Regions from separate parts of the Homo sapiens genome. Here region 1 is linked to region 2. The links are contacts of gene promoters, found by promoter capture Hi-C in human tissues and cell types (Jung and others, 2019). All regions are on one chromosome and are shown on one strand. Each heading gives the region's core, a stretch centred on a gene start or on the middle of the fragment in contact. The rest is flanking DNA. Distances are from core to core; before and after follow the strand shown.

The links. The method cuts DNA at HindIII sites, captures the fragments that hold promoters and counts their contacts. A contact is called where the count stands out against the background at its distance.
Region 1: a contact is called between a fragment that was not itself captured here and the fragment with the promoter of GAST in region 2, in 1 of the 25 tissues and cell types used here (dorsolateral prefrontal cortex).

The regions. Positions count from the first base shown.
Region 1 is chr17:41,998,527-42,001,226 of GRCh38, reverse strand. DNAJC7 (DnaJ heat shock protein family (Hsp40) member C7) reads left to right here. Exons shown (of 14, transcript NM_003315.4): 2 at 657-745. Among named protein-coding and RNA genes, the nearest start is that of DNAJC7, 18 kb to the left of the region's middle. The HindIII fragment of the contact is 6,309 bases long and covers 1-2,700 here.
Region 2 is chr17:41,710,988-41,713,687 of GRCh38, reverse strand. GAST (gastrin) reads right to left here and starts at 1,357. Exons shown (of 3, transcript NM_000805.5): 1 at 1,301-1,357. The HindIII fragment of the contact is 8,154 bases long and covers 1-2,700 here.

The sequences.
Region 1 (2,700 bases), core at 109-2,608, 290 kb before region 2:
GTGCTCCTTATAGTATGGCACTGGCATCCTGTACCTCATATGTCCCTGTCATCCACGGTCTTAGTCTCTGCTGTCACTCAGCTCTGTTCCTGTCTTAAACACCAACATGCTATGCTTTTAACTCTTTTGCCACCTGCCTTTGCTCTGCTTGTTCTTCCAGTGACAAATGCATGAGCCACTTTTCAGGAGGTGAAATTATTAAAACTCTTGAGGATGTGACCTATTTCACATTGAGAAATAAGTTGCCCTGAATGGAGTAACCATTTTTCCTGTAAGTTTGCAAAAGAGGCAGCAGTTGTGACACTGTGGAAGGAGATAGAAAAATTCCTTGCCATGAGGGAATGTCTAAATTTGTCCTGCGGGGAGGATGACTACAGGCAGAAATAGTGAGGTGAGGCAGGAACATAAGAGGGGTTTTCTTGATTTAGTTTGAATGTATCTAAGTGACAAAAAGGAGCATCTGAAGAACTTGGATTCTTTCATTAGCACCTCCTTTTGGTCCATTGGCCTATTCAACAAATCTATAAATCCTTCAAGTATCACACTAACTTTCAGCTCAGTGTGCTGCGGGCTCTAGACCAAAGATTCCTCCTGTAAGATTACAGAGGTTATTCCCTTTGTAAAGTAACATGATTCTCTTTCTCTTTCATTTTCAGGGAAGCAGAGACTTTCAAGGAACAAGGAAATGCATACTATGCCAAGAAAGATTACAATGAAGCTTATAATTATTATACAAAAGCCATAGGTGAGAAAGAACTGATACTTACGCTAGAAAACATTTACTTGCCAAATATTATTAAAAGTAGCTGCCAAGTCCTGGTGGCTCACGCCTGTAATCCCAGCACTTTGGGAGGCCAAAGCAGGAGGATCACTTTAGATCAGGGGTTTCAGACCACTCTGGCCAACATGACGAAACCCCGTCTCTACTGAAAATACAAAAATTAGCTGGGCCTGGTGGCGGGCACCTGTAATCCCAGCTACTTGGGAGGCTGAGGCAGGAGAATTGCCTGAACTCGGGAGGTAGAGGTTGCAATGAGCCAAGATTGTGCCACTGCACTCCAACCTGGGCAACAAAGCAAGACTTCATCTCAAAAAGATAAAAAAAATAGGCCAGGCTCAGTGGCTCATGCCTGTAATCCCAGCACTTTGGGAGGCCAAAGCAGGCGGATCACTTTAGATCAGGGGTTTCAGACCACTCTGGCCAACATGACGAAACCCTGTCTCTACTAAAAATACAAAAATTAGCTGGGCCTGGTGGCGGGCACCTGTAATCCCAGCTACTTGGGAGGCTGAGGCAGGAGAATTGCCTGAACTCGGGAGGTAGAAGTTGCAGTGAGCCAAGATTGTGCCACTGCACTCCAACCTGGGCAACAAAGCAAGACTTCATCTCAAAAAGATAAAAAAAATAGGCCAGGCTCAGTGGCTCACGCCTATAATCCCAGCACTTTGGAAGGCCAAGGCAGGCAGATCACCTAAAGTCAGGAGTTTGAGACCGGCCTGGCTAACATGGTGAAACCCTGTCTCTACAAAATACAAAAATTTGCTGGGTGTGGTGGTGCGTGCCTGTAATCCCAGCTACTAGGGAGGCTGAGGCAGGAGAATCGCTTGAACCCAGGAGGTGGAGGTTGCAGTGAGCTGAGATCCTGCCGTTGCACTCCAGCCTGGGGGACGACCAAAGAACTCCATCTCAAAAATTAAATTAAAAAAAATTGAGAAAAGTAGCTTCTCTCTGAGAAGTAGCCTTTTGCCCAATGGGTTGATAACTGTTACTGTATGAACTCCTTCAGGCTTAATGATCTCATGAAGGCCAGGCGTGGTGACTCATGCCTGTAATCCCAGCATTTTGGGAGGCCGAGGCGGGCGGATCACCTGAGGTCAGGAGTTCTTCTCCCCTAATTTGCTTACCCCAACTCAACATGCACATTTCATTTCAGCCTGGCCTGTTAACATGGTGAAACCCTGTCTCTAAAGATACAAAAATTAGCCAGGTGTGGTGGGCGCTTGTAATCCCAGCTACTCGGGAGGCTGAGGCAGGAGAATTGCTTGAACCTGGGAGGCAGAGGTTGTAGTGAGCCAAGATCACGTCGCTGCACTCCAGCCTGGGCAACAAGCGCGAATCTCCGTCTCAAAAAAAAAAACAAACTCATGAATGATAACTTTTTTCTTTTTCTTTTCTTTTTTTTTAACTCTTTAAATTTTTTAAAATAGAGACAGGGTCTTACCATGTTGCCCCGGCTGGTCTCAAACTCCTGGGCTCAAGCGATCCTCCTACCTTGGCCTCCCAAAGTGCTAGAATTACAGGGATGTGCCACCATCCCCAGCTGTGATAACTTCTTCTAACTGGGGTGGGTAGTTTTTCTTTTGATAAATTAAAGGCAATTCCAGAAATACTGAATGTTATGGCAAAACCCACCTAAATACATTTCAGTCATTGTCAATTCATTTACTACCTTAGAAAATGGCCTTTGTACATAAAAGAAGTCTTAGTTATCTCCATGCTTAATTTGCCAGCATACTTTAATCCCGTGTCAGCATTCTTCTCACCTAATTTGCTTACCCCAGCTCAACATGCACATTTCATTTTAATGTCTCATTATACAAAACAGTTCATTAAGATTAATAAGCTGCCTCTCTCCTCAAAAGATAATCACTACACTTCAAAGCCGTACCTTGTTTTGTTTTAAAACTGATTGTATCCTT
Region 2 (2,700 bases), core at 108-2,607:
GCTCTGTCTCCCAGGCTGGAATGCAGTGGCTGGCGTGATCCTGACTCGCTGCAGCCTCGACCTCTTGGGCTCAAGAGATCCTCCCACCTCAGCCTCCTGAGTAGTTGGGACTACAAGTGTGCACTACTATGCCCAGCTAATTTTTTTGTTTTTATTTTTAGTAGAGATGAGGTCTCACTATGTTGCCCAGGCTGGTCTGGAACTCCTGAGCTCAAGCAATCTGCTTGCTTCAGCCTCCCAAAGTGTTGTGATCACAGGCATGAGCCACGGTGCCTGGCCATTAAGTTTTTCATAATCAGGTTTTCTGTTAGGTTTTCTTTGGAAGAAAAGAATTCTGCTGCTGAAGAAATGTTTGAAAAATCAGTGATCTGGAGCTGTATTGTCAGATGCTAACCACATGTGTTGTTCAGTGCTATAGCCACCAGCCACATGTGGCTCTTTACATTTAAATTAATTAAATTAAAAAATTATGGTCAGGTGCAGTGGCTCACGCCTGTAATCCCAGCACTTTGGGAGGCTGAGGGGGTTGGATCACTTGAGGTCAGGAGTTTGTGACCAGCCTGGCCAACATGGTGAAACTCTGTCTCTACCAAAAATATGAAAAATTAGCTGGGTGTTGTGGCAGGCGCCTGTAATCCCGGCTACTCGGGAGGCTGAGTCAGGAGAATTGCTTGAACCTGGGAGGCAGAGGTTGCATGTCACTGCACTCCAGCCTGGGTGACACGGCGAGACTCTATATAAAAAAACAAACAACAACAACAACAAAAACTTCCTTACACTAACCCCATTTCAAGCGCACACGTGGCTAGTGGCTACCATATTGAACAGTGCAGATGAAGACCATTTCCTGCATCATAGGACGTTCTTTTGGATGGCACTGGTCTAGGAAAGGGCTTGAAGTGGGATCCAGGAGCTGTGGATTCCTATCCCAGCCTTGCCTAATAATCCCTGTGACTTTGGGCAAGTCACATCTTGCCTCTGGGCCTCAGTTTTCTTGTCTGAGAGAAAGGAGAAGAACCCCAGTCCTCCTCACCTCCCAGGGCTGGGAAGAGTGTGAAGGGATAGGCTAAGGGCAGGGCCCCGGCTGCGGCAGAAGGGCAGGTGGAAGGCAAGGTTGGGAATACCAGGGTAGGTACTGGAGCCAAGACCTAGTTCCATCCTGGGATAAAGAAAGGGTCCCAGCTCTGGAGACCCCAAGGGGTGAGCCCCAGACTCTGGCCAGTGGCCTGGTACCTTGATGGGGGAGAGGACCTGTCAACCCACTTCCTAGCCTCTCCCCTCTCCTCCTGGGTTTTCTCACCTGCAGAGCTGGGAGGTGTGTGGTGCCACGGCTGGGCCTGGTGCCTCTCAGGTCTCTGCTCTGCTTGATGCTCCAGGCCTGCCTTATAAAGCCCTCAAGGTCCCTCCCAACTGTCCCCCCACCCCGCCCCTACCCTGCCATATGAGTCCAGGCGAGAGGAATGGGGTGGGGCACAGGTACAGCCCATCACCCTGCCCCGCCCTTTCATTTAGTGTCAGTCAGTCATCCAGGATGTGGGGGAAGGATAGGGGAGTTGACCTTCATGGTGAGGGGCTGGAGCGGGGTGGCGGCAGCTCTCCAGCTGTACCTGAGGGGCAGGAACCAAGCTCCCTGGGTCAGGAGCAATGCTTCCCACCATATCCTGGGGGTCAGAGGCCTGGCACTTATCTCTCGAACTACATAGGGACCTTTGTGGGTGGTGGTAGGTGAGGGAGTGAACCCGATGGGCTTAGATTCAGGGAAAGTGGATTTCGCCATCCACTGATGTTTGGCAAGCGTGTGAATGTGGGGTGATGTATTGATTCCCCGTCCCCTCCACTGGACTCTGCAAACATAACGTGTTACCAGGAGCAATGGGTTGTGGGCTGATGGCCCTGTTCTCTCCTTCTAGTGGCTCACATCCTGGTCACCTCTGAAGTCCTTTCACCCTCCCCCTACCATGGAACACCCTTGGTGCCTTCTTCTCCTTAGGCCCTCTGTGCTGGGCTGGGTTTGGCTTGTAGCTGCCCCGTGTCTTCTAGGTCAGCTGCCCATGCACCACCACTTGCAAACCCCCTATGCAGAACCAATTCCTGGAGGGTCCTGCCTTTGAAGCCTCCTTCATTTTGCTTTCAAGGGGAGCTAGTAATCTGCATAACAACTTTTTTTTTTTTTTGAGACAAAGTCTAGTTCTGTCACCAGGCTGGAGTGCAGGAGTGCAGTGGTGTGATCTCGGCTCACTGGAACCTCCGCCTCCTGGGTTCAAGCGATTCTTCTGCCTCAACCTCCCTAGTAGCTGGGATTACAGGCGCACGCCCCCACGCCTGGCTAATTTTTTGTATTTTTAGTAGAGATGGGGTTTCATCGTGTTGGGCGGGCTGGTCTCGAACTCCTGACCTCATGATCGGCCCAGCTTAGTCTGCCAAAGTTCTGGGATTACAGACGTGAGCCACCATGCCCAGCCAACAACTTTTCAGTATCAAAATATACCTTCAAATGGTTAGCAAACAGACTAAAGCATTTGCCAAAGATGGACCAGAAAACAAAATGGTACCTTGTTGACTTATTTGATAAACTGCTGCCTCCACATGGTTTGACCAGATGTAATGAGCCGTAGGCTGTTTTTTACTTTTCCACTGTTGAGAGCAGAGATTTTGCTCCTGTTCATGCGTCATTGGGCCCCCACCTTTTCTGGGAGAGTT